Regions from separate parts of the Homo sapiens genome. Here all the other regions are linked to region 1. Evidence: promoter capture Hi-C in human tissues and cell types (Jung and others, 2019). All regions are on one chromosome and are shown on one strand. Each heading gives the region's core, a stretch centred on a gene start or on the middle of the fragment in contact. The rest is flanking DNA. Distances are from core to core; before and after follow the strand shown.

Region 1 (4,027 bases), core at 516-3,015:
GAAGGTGAGTTAATGGTGGTCTTCTGGCTTCACACGCGGGGGCTTTGCTCCGTACCCTGTTGTTCTCAGCCACTTCCCCAGCTCTTGGGGCCAGGGTGCCAGCTGACCTTAACCCAGCCCACACACCACTCCGAAGACACATTCTTCTAAGAGAAAGGGGAGCAGGGGAGGTTCAGGGATGGCAAGGCCCTGAAAACAAATGGGTATGTCCAGATCCCAGGCAGGGTGAGAAGCAGAGGCTCACTCTTAACCCCTCCAAGGTTGGCAAAGTGCCTAACAGTGCTGGTCTGAGGACAACTGTGAGGAACAAAAGGATAATGCGTGTCCAGCGCCTTGTTAGTTTCCAGCCTCTGATCTGAACAGTTTAATCTCTCTTACCAGCCTGCCCCTTTCCAATAGGATCTGGGGTTTTGGTTCTTTCCTTTCACTCAGACAAGTTATTTAACCTCTCAGAACCTCAGGGTTCCCTACAGAAAGTGGGGGTAACAGCACCTACCTCCTGGTGCTGATATTGTGAGTGGCAGGCATTGAATGAGTTAATGAATGCAACACTGGGCCTACAGTAAATGTTCTAGGCGTCTTTTTATTTGTATTGCAGTACTGGGTAGTGGGGCTGCAGAATCTCTGCAATACGACCAAACGCCTTAGGAGAATATCCACTGAGTGCCTACAGGGAGACAGTTCTAACCTCTCCCAGGGGTGCTGGTCCTTTCTCCCCTGCCAGGGAATGCTTGGGCGGCACCATCCTGAGCACTGCTAGTGGATTTCCATGCCTAGGACAGAGCGGCTGAGGACCTGGAGATTCACTCTTAGAACTTAGGCTACCGTGGGCATCTGGACAAACCAGTCCAGGTGCTGGACAGACCAGGGCAAAGACAGGCCAGCTGGATCATATCACTACCTCCCTTCCCACCTAAGAGGACTTTGGGTAAACTGAGGCCAGAAACATCAAGGGACTTGCCAAGGTCCTAAGAGTTGGTGGCCTAGCTGGAGCAATACAAATGATGTTTAATGAGCATTTACTAAGTGCTTTAACGGTACTGATTCATCGAATCCTCCCATCATCCTATGAGGTATTATCTCCGGTCATAGGAGGCCCAGAGAGGTTCTGGAGCTTGCCCAGGTCACACTGCGAGTCAATGGCGAAGGGCTGACAATAGCACCCAGGGCTCGCGGTGTCCTCGGGGCCCCATCCGCTGCACCACCCAGCCTCCTCCCTTTGGCTCACAGCCCAGCTTCCCTGTGCGTGGGATCCGGAAAGAAGATCCCACTTCAGTCTACAGAGCAATGTTCCATTGGATCCTATTACTGAGCCATCTCCTTCATCCCCCTTTCCGCCCCCTCCTCTAGGTTTCCGAGAGGGAGCAGCAGGGGATTGGCGCCCGTTTCCCCGCCCGACAGCCCCCCGACCCGTGGCCCCATTACAGCGCGTGGGCGGCGATCCAGCAGGAGGAGGCGCAGATCCACAGGCCGAAGGAGATGCAGACGCGGTGGCGGGCGAAGCAGCGGTCCAGGTAGTCCCAGTCCCAGAGCGCGGGCGCGGGGCTGGGCGCCTCCCCCATGGCGCGGCTGGGCGCGCGGCGCGGGGCCGGGGACCTGGGCGCAGCCTCCCTCGCCGCGGGCAAGCCCCGAGCGCCGCCGCCCCGCGTGCCCTTCTCTGGGTTCCGTTCCGCCGCGGCGCCTCCGGCCGAGCGCACCGACCGCGGGCAGAGAAGGGCGCGCTCCCGGGCGCGGGCGGCGGCGGCGAAGGCGCCGGGGAAAAGTTTCCGGGACCGCGCGCTCCCCACCCCTCGCGCTATTGTCGGGGGTCGGCAGGGCGGAGGCCGCCCCCCAGCGGCGGGAGCCGGGAGCTGCGCGCGCACAAAGACTGCGGCCCCCGCCCCCCGCCGACCTCTTCGCGGTCACCCACCTCCAACATCCTGGCCGGAGCGGGGCGGGCGGCTGGGCTCGCGGACGGCCGAGTCCCTGCCGGTCGCTGTAAGGCACGGCGTCCCTTCCTGCGTATTGTCCACATTTCCTGAGCCAACAGCAATTAGTTGCGCTGCTGAAGCGCATGGGTGCTGGGATCCCGAGGTGAAGGGGGCGTGGTCCTGATCGCCGACAGGGCGCAGTAAAAAGGGTGGGGTGCAAGACCAGGAAGGAGGAAACAAACGTGCCGGAGAACAAATACCCCCACATCTGCCTCTCACTCTCCTTTCTGAAGCTGCCAACGGCACCCTCCGCCCCCAGGCAGTCGCCCAAGCCCTGCTCCTGGATGTCATCCTAGCCCACGGCCCCGCAGCCAAGAGCTGGTTATCTCTGCAACCGGCCGCCTCCTGTCCAGCCACACACCGCACAGTTCAAGTACACAGGGCTGTTTTTCTTGAGAGTAAACTATTATTGTAATTTTTAAATCTCCTTATTGATTTTAGTAGGTTTGTTTAAAGCAAGACATGACTTGAAAACAATATTTCTATAGAAGGAGCAGGATTGAAAAAAAGAAAAAAAATCTTTTTTAATTTTCAAAAACTACAGCTTTATTTAGATATTATTTATATGCCATAAGCATAGTCTTTTTTTTTTTTTTTTTTTTTGAGACAGAGTCTCACTCTGTTGCCCAGGCTGGAATGCAATGGTGCGATCTCAGCTCCCTGCAGCCTCCGCCTCCCAGGTTCAAGCAATTCTCCTGCCTCCGCCTCCCAAGTAGCTGGGACTACAGGTGCCCGCCACCACACCCGAGTAATTTTTGTATTTTTAGTAGAGACGGTGTTTCACCATGTTGGCCAGGCTGGTCTTAAACTCCTGACCTCGTGATCTGCCCTCCTCAGCCTCTTAAAGTGCTGGGATTACAGGTGTGAGCCACCACATCCAGCCTACATAGTACTTTTAAAATGTACAATTCTGGCCAGGCACGGTGGCTCACAACTGTAGTCCCTGCACTTTGGGAGGCTGAGGCAGGCGGATCACTTGAGGTCAGGAGCTCAAGACCGGCCTGGCCAACATGGTGAAACACTGTCTCTACTAAAAATACAAAAATTAGCCGGGCATGGTGGTGCGCGCCTGTAATCCCAGCACTTTGGGAGGCCGAGGCAGGTGGATCACTTGAGGTCAGGAGTTTGAGACCACCCTGGCCAACATGGTGAAACCCCATCTCTACTAAAAACACAAAAATTAGCCAGGCATGATGGCAGGCGCCTGTAATCCCAGCTACTCGGGAGACTGAGGCAGGAGAACTGCTTGAACCTGGGAGGCGGAGATTGCTGTGAGCTGAGATGGCGCCACTGCACTCCAGCCTGGGCGACAGAGCAAGACTCCATCTCAAAACAAAACAAAAAATAAAATGTACAATTCAGCAGTTTTTAGTGTATCCATAGCGTTGTGCAACCAACATCACTGTCTACTTTTAGAACATTTTCATCACCCCCATCTGAAAAGAACCCGGCCCACTGGCAGTTACTGTCCACTCCCCTCAACACTCGCAGCCCAGGAATCGCAAATCTACCTTCTGTCTCTATGGATTTGCCCATTTTGGACATTCCACATCAATGGAATCATCCACTATATGACCTTTCTGTGACTTTCACTTAGCATGTTTTCAAGGTTCATTCATGTTGCTGCGTGTTATCAGTACTTCATTCCTGTTTATGGCTCATCATAATACATGGTATGGGTATTTTTATACCACATTTCGTTTATCCACTCATTAGTGGGATGTTTGGATTGCTTTCACCTTTGGGCTATTATGAATAATGCTGCTCTGAACATTTGTGCACAAGTTTTTGTGTGGACACAGGTTTCATGCTCTCTTGGGTATATACCTAGGAGTGTCCTTGCTGGGATCTGTGGTAACTGTGTTTAATGTTTTGAGGAATTGCCAGACTATTTTCCAAAGTGGCTACACTATTTTAGTGGTTCACTGTGTTTTCAAAGTTATGATTTGGCTTGGTAAGGTGGCTCATGCCTGTAATCCCAGCACTCTGGGAGGCCAAGGTGGGAGGATCAGTGGAGCCCAGGAGTTGGAGACCAGCCTAGACAACATAGGGAGACC
Region 2 (4,143 bases), core at 1,038-3,537, 350 kb after region 1:
TAGGATTTCTAGGTTTCATCTCACCTATCCCATCAAGAAAATTCGAGGCAATTCTAAAGAACAATAAGAGATTAGGGAATATGGCTTAACCAACAGGATATAAACAATTCTTATAAAGCTATACTAATAAAACTGGGTGATATTTATAGAGCAATAAAAAATAGACCAAATTAATAGATCAGAGAGCTTAGAGACTACATATATATAGATATACTTGGTGTTGGGACAATGGCTTTCCATGTAAAAGAATAAAATCAGGTTCCTATCTCATAGCATGCACAAAAATAAATTCCAGTTTGGCTAAAGCCTATATATTAAAAATATAACTTTTAAGCTACTAAAAAAAAATCTTTATGACATCAGGTAATAAAAAGCTTTCAAGATATAAGAGAACAAACCGTTTAAAAATTCATAGATTTGTCTATATCAAAATCAAAATGCTTTATGACAAAAAATGATAGATTAGAAGTTGTTTACAATATGAAATACCAAAAAGGTAGTCTTCAGAATATATAAAGACCTTCTACAACTCAATAAGAAAAAGGCGCTCAACCCAATAGAAAGAGGGTAAGAGATTTAAAGGGGTAATTCACAGAAGAGGAAATCCAAGTGGTCATGAATACATGAAAAGACGCTCAACTCATGGAAGCACTCACAGAAAACAAGTTGAAATCTTCTCATATCATGTCAATCTCCATATTTTAGAAAAAAATTAAAAGTCTGAAAATACTAATCTTTGTGAAAATATGAGGAAAATGGGAACTTTCAGAAACACTGCTAGTGGGGGATAAATTAGCACAGCCATTTGGGGAACAGCTTTGCAGTTATTATTAACATTGAAAAATGCACACATTTTATGACCGAAAAAATTCCCAAGGCATCAACCCTAGAGAAACTCTTCTATGAGGGTAAGAAAACACCTCAGCCTTGTAATAATGAAAACATTTTTAAACAACCTAAATTTTCATCTAAAGTAAAAGTGGTACATATTAATTAGCAGCAGTGAAAAGCAATGAACTATATCTGCGTATCTTGACATGAACAGATCTTCTAAGCCCCGTAATGAGTGAAAAAATCAAAGTGACATATATATAGAGAGAGAGAAAGATTATTTATTACATAAATTTATTACATAAATTTTTTAAATGTGGAAGATAATACTTTACATGATTAGGGACACAAATATATATTATAAGCATTTTTTAAGTGGACAAGAAGGCACATACCAAATTTATGACAATAACTTCCTCTGGAAAGGAAAGGAGGGAAATAGGAATGGGTAGTGATAAAAGTGAGATTCAATTTCATCAGTGAATTTCCTTTTTTAAAGCTCTCTGTGGGATTAATATGATGCTGTGTTTTAGACCATTTTCTGTTGCTTTAATAGAATGACTGATACTGGGTAATTTATAAAGACCAAAAGGTTATTTGGCTCATGGTCTTGGAGGCTGGGAAGTCCAAGGGCATGGCATCAGCACCTGGTGAGGGTTTTCTTGCTCATCATAACATTGGGGAAGGCATTATACAGAGAGAGAGCAAGCAAGCACATATGAAAAAGACTGCAAAAGTGAGCTGAGCTCATTTTATAACAACCCACTCTCGTGAGAAGTAACTTCCTCCCTAGAGAACTAATTCACTCCCATGATAATGGCAGTAATCCATGCAGGAGGGCTCCACTCTTGTGATCCAAGGATCTCTTAAAGGCCCCACGTCTTAATACTGTTACATTGGCAATGAAGTTTGTAACACATGAACTTTTAGGGGGCACATTCAAACCAGAGCAGGCTGGGACTTCAAATCTCACCCTACTGAGTTTCTTCCCCTTCTCTGACCTGCATCTCCCATTGTCTTGCCAGTTTCTCCTGGGAGCGCTTCCCTGATAAACTGTGTGCACAGTGAACCTCATCCCACGGTCTGCTACTAGAGAGCCTGTCCTAAGACGATGAGGCACTCAAGCGTCTCCCCCTCACTCCAATTCTTTGCTCCATCTTTGGTAGGCTGAAAAATGACTCCTGCCCCCACAAAAAATCAGTATTCTAATCCATGTGACCTGTGAATTTTACATTGTATGGCAAAACAAAGGGGTCTTTGCAGATGAGAGTAAATTAAGGATCTTGGGACGGAGGGTTATCTGGATACGCCCTAAAGGCACACACATTTATCCTTATCAGAGTGAGGCAGAGGGAGATTTGACCACACACACAGATGAGAAGGCCATGTGACGATGGATCAGGGAGAAATTCAAAGATGCTGGCCTTGAAGATTGGAGTGATGAGGCCACAAACCAAGGAATGCCAGCAGCCACCAGAAACTGGAAGAAACAAGAAACAAATTATCCCCTAAAGCTTTCAGAGGAGCATGGCTGTCTATGATTTTGAACTTCTGAGCTCCAGAACTGGGAGGGAATAAGTTTATGGTAATTCGTTAAAACAGCCATGGGAAACCAACATGCTCTCCTACTAATAAAAGCTTATAATCCTTACACCATGCTTACCATATCCCAGGCCCTGTGCTGAACTTTCACCCTGGTTGTCTCACGTAAGACTCACAATATCTCTTTGGGTTAGTTAATTCACAGGAGCAAAAACTGAGGTTTGAAGAAGTTAAATGACTTGCCCAGGGTGACACAGAGTCAGGATTCAGACACAGGCAGGCCAACTCCAGAGCTGTCCTTCTCTACAAGTACTGTGGTCCCACCTTTCAAGTTGGGAGGCCCAGCAGGGATGGTTATCAAGCAGGGAAGAAGGGGAGGTATGTCCAGTCTCTGCTGTATGTCAGGATCCCAGAAAAAAAGCATTAGAAGCCTGGGCTCTGGTATCTCTCCACCTGCCAGACCCCACCCACCAGTTCCAAGGAAAGGCAGCCCCAGCAAACGTCTCCACAGGGACTGAGCAAGGCAGATGGCTGGGCTGCTGAGCAGACGGAGGGAGCCCAGGGCTTTCTGTGCTCAAGGCCTGCTCAGAGAAGGTTGGTCTGGACACCCCAACCAGCCAGTTCACCAAGCACTGGCATCTTCCCACAAGAGAAGAAAGGAGGGAAAGATGGAAAAGAAAGAGGGAGGAAAACAAAACAGCCCAAACAGCCCAAATCACTCCTCCCCCAACAGCTGCGTTCAACAAAGGGACATTAAATTAAATTCTTGAGGAAACAGGGCTCAGAGGGTAGGACCATGCCAAGTGAGCCCAGGAACACTTACCACTCTTCGGAACCCAATTAGCCTCCCTTTGGGACACTGGGCTCTTCATTAATCCCTTCTCTGGCTGAAAATGAGGTCCCTGTGCTTTGATCCCCTCTGCCTGCCTGCCAGGGCTCCTGGCTGGGAAATGTCACATCTGCCACTGCTCACACCATTGTCTGAGCTTACAGACCCATGGCTCTCCAGTAGCATAGGCCACGCTGCCAGAAGCCCCTCCAAACACTCACCCAGACTTGAGTGTGGTCCCCAGATACACCCAACATACTCTCTGGGCACCATCAGAGAAAACTCAGACCCAGTACCTGCCATGAAAGAACTTGAGATGGAAGAGGGAGAAAAACTTATACAAAAACCTTTGATATGGCCCATAAAATCTCATCAGAGCCTCTACTTTACTGAGCACTGGCCTAATCCCATTCCCACATGGTCCATAAACACTTTTGTGTCCCTTACCCCACTGGGCCTGTCGCCCTGCTGTCCTGCCCTGATGCAGCTGGAGGCTGGGGGGCTCCAGCCTTCTCCTGAGGATTCCTGTCTAAATGCTCAGCTGCTCTGGAATTCACAGGAGCCCAGGGCATGGGGCCCACCTGGTCTCCTGCTTCCTTCAGGTTGTTGCAGAGCCCCTGTCCTCCCTCGCCTTCTCTACCCCTTTGCTCCCCCTGCCTCGCCTGCAGCTGTCCATGAGCTCTGCTCAGCAAGTCCCAGCTGACCTGGATCTTTCCTTTTTTTCCAGCTAAACAGATATCTGCCTTGCTAATACTGACTGCCTTTCAAAGCATAATTATGATGTGTTGTGTTAAAATCACACTCCAGTAAGGAGCAGGAGACAGGGGAGAGGAATGGATGGGATGAAGAGGGCCAAGAGTCTCTTCCTGTCTCCCGGTGCAGGGATTAAGAGACTGAAGAGGGCATTCTGGGGAAACTGAGGCTCAGAATGGCCCAATAAC
Region 3 (4,254 bases), core at 416-2,915, 480 kb after region 1:
CCCCAGGTGGGAACAGCTAGATGAAGCAGTGCACACACACGCACGCACACACACACACGCATGCACACACACGCACACATGTGCACACACACACCCCCATGCACACACGCAGCTCCCAGCCCCGGGTGGTGGGAATAGTTGGATGAAGCAGTGCACACACACACGTATGCACACACGCAGCTCCCAGCCCCGGGTGGTAGGAACAGCTGAAGCAGTGCGCGCATGCACACACACACACCCATGCACACACGCAGCTCCCAGCCCCAGGTGGTGGGAACAGCTGAAGCAGCGCACACACGCACACACACCCACACGCATGCACACACATGCATGCACACATGTGCGCACATACACGCAGCCCCCAGCCTCCAGCCCCAGGTGGTGGGAACAGCTGGATGAAGCAGTCAAGAGAACATGGGTTTCAAAATCCAATCTGGGTTTCAACTGCAGCCATGCCCCTCACTCGCCGTGCCATCCCAGGCAAGCTGTTGCTCTTCTTTGAGCTTCAGCTTCCTCCCAGATAGGAACATTAATCCATACCCAGAGGCTGTGTGAAGATTAAACAGCATTTCATATGAGGAGCCCTCGCACAGAGCCTGGCAAGAGCCACTCCTTGGTCCGTGGACCTTCCCGTCTTTTCTCCCTTCCACAGTAAGGATGGAGCCGCCTCAGGAAAACATCTCCCACTGATTTCGCCGCAACTGCAGGATGGAAACGGAGGTGAACATCTGGCGGGAGCTCGGAAAAACGCCAGTTTCTGACACTATCTTCGACAAGCCAGGGAGTTGGGAAAGCTTGGGAGGGGAGTGGTGCACTAACGTATATTAACACTTACTACGAGGCAGGCACCGTTCCAAGAAGCTGACATGTTTTCAAGAATCTTAATTCTCAGAACATCCCTGATTAGGTAGTACGCTTATCCTTAACATAGGGGGAAACTGAGGCACAAAGCGGTTTACTGGTTTGTCCAAGGTCACAGGGCTATTAAATAGTGGAGCCAGGACCTGAACCCAGGCAGTGTGAACCCAGCACTCACGGTCTTTTTTGTTAGAATCCTTTTTCTCTTTAATCAGTTTTGGATTTCCCCTCTGTTTCATGAGCTTTTTGCTTTACTTTTTAGCCATTCATTCCACAAACACCTACTCGGAGCCAGGCCTGGGAATGCCGAGCTTGGCTGAGGGAGCCTGCACAGCACCCACAGGACCAGGCAAAGAGGCGGAAAGGGGTGTGGCCAGGAGAAAGGGTTGTGGCCAGGAGAAAAGGGTGGAAAGGAGCCCTGGGCATTCTGATAGTGCCAGAGGGTGCTCCTGAGGCCGGCGGGCAAAGAATGCTATGAAGAAGGGGTGTCTGAGTTGGCCATGAATGACAGAGAGGATTTCTCAAGGTAGAGATGGGTGAAGAGAAGTCCCTCCAGGTGGCAGGAACAGTGCAAGCAAAGATAAGCAGGTGAAAGCTTGGCACAGCATCTGGGAGCCATGAGTGCCCAATTTGGCTAGAGCGTACTGAGTCAGTGCCAGGTCACAAACGCCTTGAGTGCCAGACCCCTGGGTTGAAGATTCTGAATGCATTCCAAGATTCAATTAAGGAAGCAGGATGATCTGCCCATGATTTTGCCCACTTATGGTGGCAGCCAATCATCCTGCAACAACTGTGCCCCAGTCCACACGCTTCCAGGGAAAGCTGCATTGGGTGGCCCCCTTCTCGCTCCTCCACGTGAAGCCCTGAACTCAGCTGCCCAAATTTGTTTCTCCACAAAGTACAGCCACACCATTGCACCCAAAATGGAGGATCTGAGGGGCCAAGGAATGACTACTGCCTGGAGAGCCGGGAGACACGGAGCATCACCTTCCACCTGCGTTGAGCTTCTTTTCATTTCACTCCATGTACTAAATAAGCCATTTTGAGCACCTGCTCTGTGTACGGTCCTGTGCCTGGGTCCCATGAGACCCAAATCATTGTCATTTCTCTAGCACTTGAAACACATCTGTCCCCCTACACCCACAATCACATTATACAACCATGTCATCAACAAGTACATTTCTACTAAAAAGTTCCTGCTCATGACAGTGCTGGGAGGACATCTCTTTACACGTTTAATTACGAAGACCAGGACCAGACATGAAATCCTAATGACCCAAATGAACAGCACTTGATGTAGAAGGCAGCGCGGCTTTGCCCACATTCCCTGAACCTCTGTCAAGCTTGTGACAAGCTTTCGTCAATCAGACGAAACTAAGTGAAAAAGCAATCGCTTTTGGAGCACGCAGGAAGGTAGCAGTCTTACAGGCTTAGAAAACCAGGGAGGAGTGAAGCCGCTCAGTGGTCTCCCTGCCGGTGCAAGGAGGCTGCCACCTGCAGAAGGTGCTAACGCCAAGTGTGGGAAGACACCGGGGTCGGCCTGGGCGCAGTCACTCCTGGGTGGAGGCTGAGCTTGGGAGTGTGAATGCCGCAGGCCCCACCCGTTCCACTCGTCAAAATCGTACCTAGCTGAGGTTGCACAGTTGGCTCCTCCCAAACCTCCCGTTGATCCTCCTCCTATTGAGAGGTTGGAACGAGGGAAACTAAGCTTCCCAGATGCCCAAACGGCGAGAGCTCGGGACGTGAATCAGGTGCTGCGACTCGGGAACTAGTGTGCTCACATGAGACGTGCCCGGTGAGAATGTGGCTTCTGGCTGTCACTGCTGGTTAGACGGTCCCAGTCACCTTGAACCCAGGTCGTGCTGCCGCTTCCTGAGTACCAGAAAAGCAGGGCAGTGGTGGTGATTTCTGTCCAAACTCCATAATCCTCAGACCTCAACTTAGACTGTTCATCCTTCAGCCTCCTAGAGAGTCCAGGAATGGCTGTGGGCTGGCAACAGCTGCTTCTGAACTAGCCAGGAGTCCTTCAAAAGGCCCAGCCGGAAACCTGCCCCTTGAGCCCCTCCAACAATGTTGTAAGCACCTAATTCCAACAAGAAACTCCTTCTGCTTACACCACCTGGAGTGGTTTCTGCTTCCTACGCGATCCCTGGTTGATAAACCCTGCCTGGCAAACCGAGCACGCGTGAAGGCCTCAGGAGCCACAGTGGAAGTGGTTTGGAAAGCACAGCTATTTACAGGACGACTCCCTTCATCTGGTGCGGAGCAGTAACCCCCTCGTCTGGCTCCGGCAGCACACCGTGTGCGCTCTCACCTTTGAGCTGAGGTGTTCACGTCCGAGGTGGAGGAAGGAGGGCGGCAGGTGCAGGCCAGGACCGGACCTCGGTTATCTAGAGAGTAACTAACAGTGCTTTGTCAGAGGGCGAGAGGGTCTGATGGGGGCAGCTCTGTATGAAAACTGGAGGCGCTGAGGCTGTCCTCAGGCTCAGGAGACAAAGACCGAGGACAGGTGACAGGGACAGTGATAAGGAGCTGGGCCGCTCAGGAGATGGCAGGAAACTCAAGTCAGGCAGCTGAAGCATGCACTATTTGCCACAAACGGAGTCGGGCTATCTAAAACAGGTTGTTTACGTGGACTTGATGGGCCTATAAGACTCAGCGACAGGGAGAAGCAGCTGGATTGGGGTGTGTTGAGCTTTCCTGTCACCCAAGGCAGAGGGGCGCTGTGTTCTGGTAGGTGACATGCACTATGAGATCTCAAGAGCAAGAGAAAGAAGGCATGCCACCACGAGCGGTGGAATCTGCACCATGCTGGATCTACTGACACATCTAAAACATTCTCAACTGCAGCAACATTTCTGGGCAAGTAAGTTCTAAGCGTGTCTGTTTCCCCTCACAAATTCTAACCAGAATGCTTTAAGCCAATGCTTCTCCAATTTTAATGTTTCTGTGAATTATCTGGGGATCTCGTTAAAATGTAGATTCTGAGTCAGTAGGTCTGGGGTGGGGTCTGAGATTCTGTTTCTGGTCCATGAACTACACTTTGAGTAGTGAGACTTGAAGCTTCAGAAACATCAGTCAAGATCCAAACTATTTACAGGTGCACTGCCAAGTGCACATCAGCAAGAAGGGAGGGAACTTGGCCCAGGAAACACAAGAGAGAGACAGTAGAACCAATCCACAGGACAACTTATCAGCTCTCACCGGCTTGCAACTCTATTTCCTGCTCTCTCCCTCACCCTTACCCTGGGACGCTTGGGAGAATAAGATTTAATTTCCCATTTCTGGGGACTCTAAAAACTGTGCAGAAGGGAAAGGGAAGGTAAGTCATTGAGGGCTGACCATCTCCAGGACCAGGTAAAGGCTGAGACGGAAACACACTTGCTTGCCTGCCTG
Region 4 (3,962 bases), core at 568-3,067, 500 kb after region 1:
CTGCATAGAGTTCCTCCAGACAGGCCTGCTCCCTGCCTCTGGAAGCCTGGCAGAGAGGAAACGCTTTCCATCCGTATTTCCCACTGGCTGGCATCATGGCGTGAAGAGGGGTGTGTGTGTGTGTGTGTGTGTGTGTGTGTGTGTGTGTGTGTGCGTGTGCGCGCGTGCGCGCACGTGCAAAGAGCTATCAGCTATTTCCAAAGACGACTCAGTAAATAAGAGCTTTTCTGTAAATCTGAGTATCTGAAGGACTTTTGTGGGGAAAGGTGTGAGGACATGTTTTCGTTTGGCATCAGAGTATGTTTGGCAGGGGCAATGGGTAGAAACCACAGGGGCGTAGATTGTTTTAGGTTTAATAGACAGAAAGACATTCTAACAAACTCATCCAATCATCAAATAATGGGCTGCTCTGAAAGTGGCCACGTCCCCACTGTGGGAGGTGATCCGCTTGAGACTGACAGATCTGGGATGCTGCAGGCGGAATCCAACATGAGGCGAGATACCCTCGGTGTCCCTCCCATTCCCAGAATTCTGCGACGATATCAACAGAATCTATAATGGTCTGCTAGAGTTAGGAAAGATAGTTCAATTCACCTTTCTCATTTTACACAGGAGGAAACCAAGGTGGATAGGAAGGGACTGGACCCGAGGCACCTGAGTCTATCTTTCCATCCCCTTATCAAAAAAGAGTCAGTCAGCAGGGGCAGGGAGGTTTGTTCAGCATTTCAGTGAAGAGAAAGGGGTGTTGGGAGATGGGAGGGAGGACAGTGAAGTACAAGTGGCTTCCATTTTCCAGGGCAGATGACACACTGGGCACCTCCACACTTCCCTGGAGAACCCAGGCTGGCTCGGAACACAGTCCCTAGGCCTCAGCACCAGGAGGCTGAGACCCACGGGAATGACACTGTGGCAGAAGTCAGCTGCTTTTGCAGTACATAGCAGGATGGGGTTCCTGTGACTGAAGGGGCAGACACGGAAACTCAGACTGGAAGAGCTTTCTACTGTAGAAAAGAGGTTTTTACTGTGGGAAAGAGATTTTCTACAGTAAATCTTTGCTGTCACCTTAGATGGATAAATGGATGGACGGATGGACAGACGGGGATGGCAGGACGGCAGTCAGGTAGGCAGGCAGGCATTATTCTAGTGCTTCCCTAGGGTAAGAGAAAGGTTCACCCGACTCAGGCTGCAGACATAAAAAAGTGAAACCCATGCCCTCTGATAATGACCAACATTCCCTCTATGGTGTAGAAGCTATGAATGGCCTGGCTGGATACAGTTTCCACTAAAACCTACACCACTGAGATTTCCCAATGATCAGAAGCCCTCAGCAACAGTCTGAGAGCAGCCATGCACGGCTGCCTTTAATTACACACTGATCACAGCATCACCAGGGCCGTCACCATGCTGGGAGGAAAAGCGATAACATCATTTTGCTGGAGAGAGCCCCACACGTCAGAGCAGAAATGCAGCCTTTGCCAAATGTGACTGTGGACAGAGATGAGAGATCCACTCGGACAGCGCTCAAACGCCAACGTAGGACCCTCAGTGCTCCTATAGGTTTGAATGAAAAGACTATCTTTAACATACACCTGTATACTGCAACCCACCCCGGCCCAAAAAAATAAATGGGACTCAGTGACCCAGGCTATAAGGTGGCTGGGTAGGAGACTGCAAAACATCTCAAGAGCTGCTATTTCCTAATTCAGGAAATAGAGGATGTGGTCTAAGAACCATCACTCCAGGACCTCAGGGGCAGAGGGGACAGGCAGGGGACTGAGCCCAGGAACCTGGGTTCTAGTCCTGACCAAGCGGCCCCGGGTGAACGCAACTTACCGAAAACTTAGTGTCTTCTACAAAACAAGGATAAAACCACCTGCGTTCTTATGTCACTGAATTAGTATGAGGAGCAAATTTAAAATATGAATGTAAAACCAATTTGCACACAGTTGAGCACCGTTCAAGCACACAGGACGACAGCACTGCTATAAGCCCTGGCCAGAAGCACACAAGGTGAAGTGGGCAGCTCACAGGACGCAGGGAGCTGCCAGGAAGGCCACTGCATGTCTGTCAAAGGGCATGGAGACTTCAGCCTGGACAAGAAAAATAAATAAATAAATAAAAACAAGCAGAGGTCCAAGGAGATAAATAACTTATTCTTTGTTTTAGACCATTTTTAGAAGTGGCGTCGAAGGGTAAAAACCTTCATCAGAAAGGCCTGGACCCAGAAAACAGGTTCTCAAACTGAGAAATGAGCACAGGATTGAGTGTCTAAAAGGAGATGATTACACTGCAACTCGTTCGAGTCCTAGGAGGCTGTCCACAAGCTTAGGCTTAGCTGCAGGCAGCCAATGGGATCCTTCAATCATACAGGTACAGCCTGCCACAGTGCCCAGGTGCCTCATCAGCTTGCTGTGGGGGCCAGGACAGAGAAGGGGCACTGAAGGGAAGAAAAAAGTGGAGGGAGAAACAAAGTGGGGTGTGACACTTTTCTTCTGGGGCAGGGGAAGGGGTGACATGTAGGGACAGGGGCATTACAAACTGAAGTTTGAGATGCTTTAATAATGGTGCTTCAAAAATCCTTGACCCCATATTGTTGGAAGCTATTTTCAGCTGGCAATTTACAAAACCACACATGGTCAGCTCCAATCTGGCCACAGTTTCTGCACCTTTGCCATTGGGCTTTCGGCACTGGTCTTCTGCACCATGGATAAGAGCACAAAGCCATGTTTTCCCACATGGGTAAAGGGTGGGGTAAGGGTGTGCACCTGCCTGTAACCTCAAAGACCGTGAAGAGAAAGGGGCTAGTGGCAGCTTCATCCAAGGCAGAAGGTGATTCCTTCCTGCACAGCACACTCCCTTTCTAGGCCAGGACAAATTCCTTCTGGCTTCAGAGGTGGTGCTGCTGCGCACTCTACATTTAACCTCTCCGTGCTCTGTAAATACTGCCTGCTTTGGCTTCACAGCACCAAGGAAAGTTATGGCTTGTATCGGACACGGAGAAAGGGAGAGGGCTCTGATGGAGCTGCTCTGTGCTTAGTATTATGTCATGTGTACATGACATCATTGTATTCTCAGCTACTTACTGAGTACCCTTAAGTAGGTCCTGAAGGCCAGTGATTCTCAAACAGGAGGAAGAGAGGGGTCATAAACCCTTGCAGGTCAGAACTGGCAGGCAGGCTTTATCAGACACACCCTTTCTGCCTGCATAGCAACATGTGAGTCCCAGATCTCAAATATGCCATGGAAGGGGAGGTTCTCGTTTTATAGCCCATATGCTGGGTGTCTCCCCATTTCACAGATGAGGAAACAGAGGCTTTAAGAGGTTTAAGTATGTTTCGCAAAGTCATTTGGCCAGTAAGTGATGGAGCCAGAAGTCAACCTCAATGACAGAAACTTTGCCAACATTTTAGTCTATCTCCACAATGGCAATAAGAGAAGCAAGTTATCTTCCCAGGAAATTTAAGTGATTTGGTTTTATTCCTGCTAGGGACTTCAGTTCCCTCCGCTTCATGCCATCATTTGAAAATAATAACCAAGCCTTAAAACTACAAGATGTAATTAGAGAGCTGGACACTGGCTGGAGGAATGGTTTCCGTGCCAGGCCCTACCTAGACTGGATTTGTGAGACTAGGAGGGGAGAGGCTGGGCAATATTTTACTAGTCAAGGGCCTGGTCCTTGACTAATAAGGTCATAGCCTTGCAGAGGGAGACACGCATTCATGGGAAGCGTCTGTCCTCCAAGCCTGAGGAGTGAGGGCCACAGCTGGGTGCAGGCGGCCCTCAGAGAGGCTTTATGGAACTGGCAGCATCTCACCTGTGCCTCGAAGAATGAGCAGGGCATATAGAAAAGTGGGCTGGAGGCCAGGTGCAGTGGCTCATGTCTGTAATCCCAGCACTTTGAGAGGCCGAGGCGGGTGGGTCACAAGTGAGGAGTTTGAGACCAGCCTGGTCAGCATGGTGAA
Region 5 (4,433 bases), core at 1,697-4,196, 440 kb after region 1:
GCAGGGACAGGCGTGGGAGTGGGTCCTCACGGGGAGGACACATCGTGGCAGAACCAGCTCTGCCTCCCAGCCTGGAGATGCTGCCCCACCGGCCCCCGCAGAGAGACTTCCCCACCCAAACCCAGGATAGGATCTGCGTGATGAAGCAGAAGGTACGGGGGAATAAAACCGGAGACCCTGCCCAGGGTGGCCCTGAGGGGCCACTTCTCAGCACCAGCACATTGCTCCGCTTCTGGGAACGGAGGAACCTTCCTCAAGGTCTCACGTATCACAGAGAGTGCCAAGAGTCTGATCCTGGCGAGGGGGAAGCATTCCCTCCGGACATTCTTACAGGGGAATCCACAGGGCCACTGCTTGTGTTCTGCTGTGAGTGGAACCGAGCTCTGGTGCCTGCCTGGTGGTAACAGCCTTGGCAAAAATAAGCTTCTCAAGCAAACTGAGATGCTGTCATCTTGCCACAAAAGTCTGCGGTGATAGGGTCACACAGGGTTGGGATGCAGTGTGGCAGCTGTGTGTTCATTTTACCCTATTTCTTCCCAGTGGTTCATTTCAGGACCAGGTTATAAAGCAGCTAAAATTCTACCAGGCAGACCAGGGCACCATGACATCAGAGAGGAGGGACCCTCTGACTAGGGGCAGTGGGTGCTTTACCACCAAGGAGCTCGATTTACCCTTCGAGGGGTGGGAACGAAGCGTTTACCGAGGTGGAGCAGAGACCCAAAGGGAGGGAGGGCACGAGAAGCAGGGAGGCAGGACCTGTGGCCGCCGAGGTCCTGGACTACCTCATGCTCCACGGAGCCCACGTGTCCATCTTTCTTTACTGTCCAGAGTACCCAGGAGGGAGAGGACTCACCCAGCTGGGGGTGTGGCCCGTGCAGTCTCTTGTGTCCACAGGACCTCACAGGGCACCAGCACAGCAGGGCCACAGGAAAGATCACAGGGCTGATGAGGAACGATGGAAAGGCAGGCGTGGGGTGGACCGTGCAGCTGTCGACACCGGGTGGAAGCAGGGGGCAGGACACTGAGGACACGATGCTGCACCTGCAGATTCACTGAGCCCTCAACCTCCCCACCAGATCTACTGTGGGGTTGAGTGAGGAGCAGGAACCCGGAGAGGCTCAGGTGTCTTTTTAAACGGCTTTACTCCTAGCAAGTGGGGAGCAAAGAGGCCGCCCACTGTTCCAGGTATCCTTACCAACCTCGGCAGGAACGCTCCCAAATCTTCTGTGTCTGCAGCAAGGAGGAGCAAACAGTGAACTAGCACTGAGCTCGCTGGGCTCAGGAGATGGGGGCCGCAGGCAGAGAGAAGAGGACAGAATATGCCTCCAGGAGAAGGCCACAGCACAAGTGGCTCTTTGGGGACAATGCTCAGCACCACCACTCAATCAGGATGAAGAGGTATTTGATGATGGTCAGAAAGGACTGGTCTGGGCATCAGCCTGAGAAGGAAAGGAGGGACAGGAAATTGGGCGTGCAAGCTGCCCCGTGTGTGTGCTGCAGCAGAAACACAGCCTGAAAAGGAACAATGACTGTCCCCACCCAAAGCGATGTTCAGGGGGCCCTTGTTCAAGGCGTCCCTACTATCCCCAAATGAACCCAGAAAGACAGAGCAGTCACCTAAGGGAATGGTGGGTTTCTCTGGCTTCTGTGTCTGCTGGTTCTCGTAGAGGAATCGCATCAGCCTCGGGGTAGAAGGAATGGTACGGGGTGTGGACAGTATTGGAGCTCGTGCGAGGAACTTCTATCCCATGGCAAAATGGCCTAAACAGGCAGTACCGCCAATCCCCCCAACGCAACAGCACAGCGTGGGTCACGAAGCCCTCTCACACTCTCCACCTCGGCTCCCTCTCCCTGGCAGCCCAGGGACATTACTGCCTGCATTTTTGCAGAAAGGGAACAGAGGTCCTCAGTTTGTCGCAGGCAGGGCTTCTGATCTCTGAGGTCCCTTTGATCTGACTGCCTCGGATTCCACGGGCTAGGGTTCCAAGGAGGTGCGCTTGGATTTCAATCTTATTTCTGAATTTGGGTGGCACCGGCCGAGGCCAGGGGACAGGGTGATCGGGTGATGCTGGCACATTAGGAACTTAGGGCTCAGACCTGAGGCCTCTACGAGGCAGGGCAGTGAGTGTCCCAGACCCCTGCCCTTCTTCACAGGAGTCTGGGGCTGACAACGTATATTCAGGGGCACTGTCTGTGGCACGTGCAGAGGCTGCAGGAAACCTTTGTATAAATGCAGGTATTTGGTTCTGAGTCCTGGAGCATCCAGAAGTTTCTCTGACTAACCCCTCCCCCCCTCATGCCCACAACCCAGCCACTTTGCTCTAACTATCTGGATTGTCTAACCGTCCGGCCTGTGGAGAGTCTTGTTCCTGTCTTCCATAGTCACCTGGAGACCCACGGTAGAGGGGATAAGCCTTTTTCACCCCTTTAGAAATAATTTCAACTGGAAAACAAGCCCCCACGCAGACAGTCCCTGGTAAATATTGGGTCTTTTCAGAAGTCAAGGAGGCCCTTTGGGAAAATAAAAATTAAGAAGCTTTAAGAACATTCTTCCAGTCATAAATGCATTTTCTAAATTTTTAACATTGAATATAACTTAATAATCATAAAAAAGACTATTAAAAGCTAGTCAACTAGTTTTCATGAAGAAAACCCATCTTTATGGAAAAGGGCATCTGAAGTCATTTGGAAAAGCACAGTTACTTCCTCGCTTCAAGTCTTTCCCTGATGATCACAACCAAGGCCGCTCTGCTAAGGGCTCTCGAGAGAGCCGGGCTGGAGAATCTAAGGGCTCGTCCTCCCCAGTAAAGGGCACACGTGGCCATCAGCCCTCCCACCTCCTCCTCCCACCACTCCAAACCACAGGCCCTTTTGCCTCCGACTCTTCGTGATTTTTTTTCTCCTGCCCCTTTCTCAGCTCCTCAGGTCGAGTTCACCACCACCACCTCCAAGAGGGAGGAAGCGAGGATGGGAAAATGCTGAGCCTGGGCTGTCTGCACAAGACTCTGCAGGAAGGTTCTAGAAGCCTGTGCTGACTCAGGCTAAGTTCAGGCTGTAGACTGTCAGGCAAAGAAGGCTCCATTTGAGGTCTGAGATTCAGCACACGGCCTCGCAAGGCGTACCTCTGGGGCGTCCTTCAGCCTTGAGAGCAGTCACTGAAGGGCCAGCATCTGGGCCTCCTCCCAGAGGAAGCACCCGGCCCAGAGGCTGTGCAGTCAGTGAGGCCTGGAACCCGGAAACGTGATTTCCCTCATACCCATGCATGTGTGCCTGGCCCAATGAGCTCGTTTGGCGTGGAAGGGACCTTGTTTTCCAGTCATCCAAGATGAGAGTCCAGGAGGGAAAAGCAACACTCAGCAGCTGTCCAGCACTTCATCCACACCAGCCAGGTCCTCTGGGGTGATCCAGGGACATTTCAAGTCCACCCAGGCCCAGAGGCTCTCCGGACACCCTGCGCCCTGGCTGGGTGATGTCGGCTAATTTCAGACCCATGACCCTGCATCTTGGTCCTACCTGGAGCTAAGGCTGAAGTTCTGTGGGGCAGTCTCGAGCTCTTCAGTCCTTTAGGGGAACCACTGCCCTGTGGTATCAAACTGGAGAAGACATGGACATCCTGGAGTTGTAGGACCACCACGGAGCTCTAAGTACCCGTGTCCCTAGAGCAGTCCTTACTGCCAGCTCAGAACTGACCCTTATTAGGATCTCTTGATAACAAGACCTAAAGCAGGCTGAGGTCTCCAGCTCTACTGGACAGAGAAGGTAAGAAGTGTTCCCAGGCCGGGAGCGGTGGCTCGCACCTGTAATCCCAGCACTTTGGGAGGCCGAGGTGGGCGGATCACCTGAGGTCAGGAGTTCGAGACCAGCCTGGCCAACATGACAAAACCCCGTCTCTACTAAAAATACAAAACTTAGCCGGGCATGGTGGCGTGCGCCTGTAATCCCAGCTACTCAGGAGGCTGAGGCAGGAGAATCGTTTGAACCCGGGAGGCAGAGGTTGCAGTGAGTTGAGATTGCACCATTGCACTCCAGCCTGGGCAACAAGAGTGAAACTCCGTCTCAAGAAAAAAGAATAAGTGTTCCTAACGTCACACAGGCCATTTGCAGTAGGACTAAGAGATGCTCCTCATAGAGCCACGGTCTACCAGAGCCTGAAGACTGAGGGACTCCTGGTTCATATACCCATTGTGCAGATGAGGAAGCTGAGGCTCAAAAACTGGCCTGTCCAGGGTCACGCTGCTGAAAGGGCAACTCCACATTTCCAGGCAAATAATTTATGCTTTTCCACAAATGCCTCTGCCCAGAAAAGGGAACTGCTGCCTCCCACCTACCCAAAACAAGCCCTGTGGTGAGGCGAGGCAGCACCGCTCAGACAAAGCCAGCCTGCCAGGAGGCGCAGAGGCTGTGCTTTCCCCTCCAGCAGGGCCCACGTCCTC

Evidence for each region. Contacts are between HindIII fragments. The study calls those that stand out against the background at their distance.
Region 2: a contact is called between a fragment that was not itself captured here and the fragment with the promoter of TMEM44 in region 1, in 3 of the 25 tissues and cell types used here (pancreas, spleen and thymus).
Region 3: a fragment that was not itself captured here is called in contact with the fragment with the promoter of TMEM44 in region 1 in 2 of the 25 tissues and cell types used here (dorsolateral prefrontal cortex and spleen).
Region 4: a fragment that was not itself captured here is called in contact with the fragment with the promoter of TMEM44 in region 1 in 1 of the 25 tissues and cell types used here (dorsolateral prefrontal cortex).
Region 5: a fragment that was not itself captured here is called in contact with the fragment with the promoter of TMEM44 in region 1 in 1 of the 25 tissues and cell types used here (pancreas).

What each region holds. Positions count from the first base shown.
Region 1 is chr3:194,631,654-194,635,680 of GRCh38, forward strand. TMEM44 (transmembrane protein 44) reads right to left here and starts at 1,766. Exons shown (of 10, transcript NM_001011655.3): 1 at 1,426-1,766. The coding sequence starts at 1,562. TMEM44-AS2 (TMEM44 antisense RNA 2) reads left to right here and starts at 1,275. Exons shown (of 2, transcript NR_186047.1): 1 at 1,275-1,514. RefSeq lists a silencer at 1,535-1,964. The HindIII fragment of the contact is 16,299 bases long and covers 1-4,027 here.
Region 2 is chr3:194,980,475-194,984,617 of GRCh38, forward strand. It overlaps LOC105374294 (a long non-coding RNA gene), which reads right to left. Exons shown (of 4, transcript XR_924873.2): 4 at 1,109-2,311. Among named protein-coding and RNA genes, the nearest start is that of XXYLT1-AS1, 110 kb to the right of the region's middle. The HindIII fragment of the contact is 5,353 bases long and covers 1-4,143 here.
Region 3 is chr3:195,112,539-195,116,792 of GRCh38, forward strand. All of the region lies in intron 3 of XXYLT1 (xyloside xylosyltransferase 1), which reads right to left. Among named protein-coding and RNA genes, the nearest start is that of MIR3137, 20 kb to the right of the region's middle. The HindIII fragment of the contact is 3,156 bases long and covers 88-3,243 here.
Region 4 is chr3:195,134,717-195,138,678 of GRCh38, forward strand. The region is part of intron 3 of XXYLT1 (xyloside xylosyltransferase 1); the gene reads right to left. Among named protein-coding and RNA genes, the nearest start is that of MIR3137, 2.1 kb to the left of the region's middle. The HindIII fragment of the contact is 6,136 bases long and covers 1-3,962 here.
Region 5 is chr3:195,071,195-195,075,627 of GRCh38, forward strand. The region is part of intron 3 of XXYLT1 (xyloside xylosyltransferase 1); the gene reads right to left. Among named protein-coding and RNA genes, the nearest start is that of XXYLT1-AS1, 21 kb to the right of the region's middle. RefSeq lists an enhancer at 1,910-2,410. The HindIII fragment of the contact is 7,435 bases long and covers 1-4,433 here.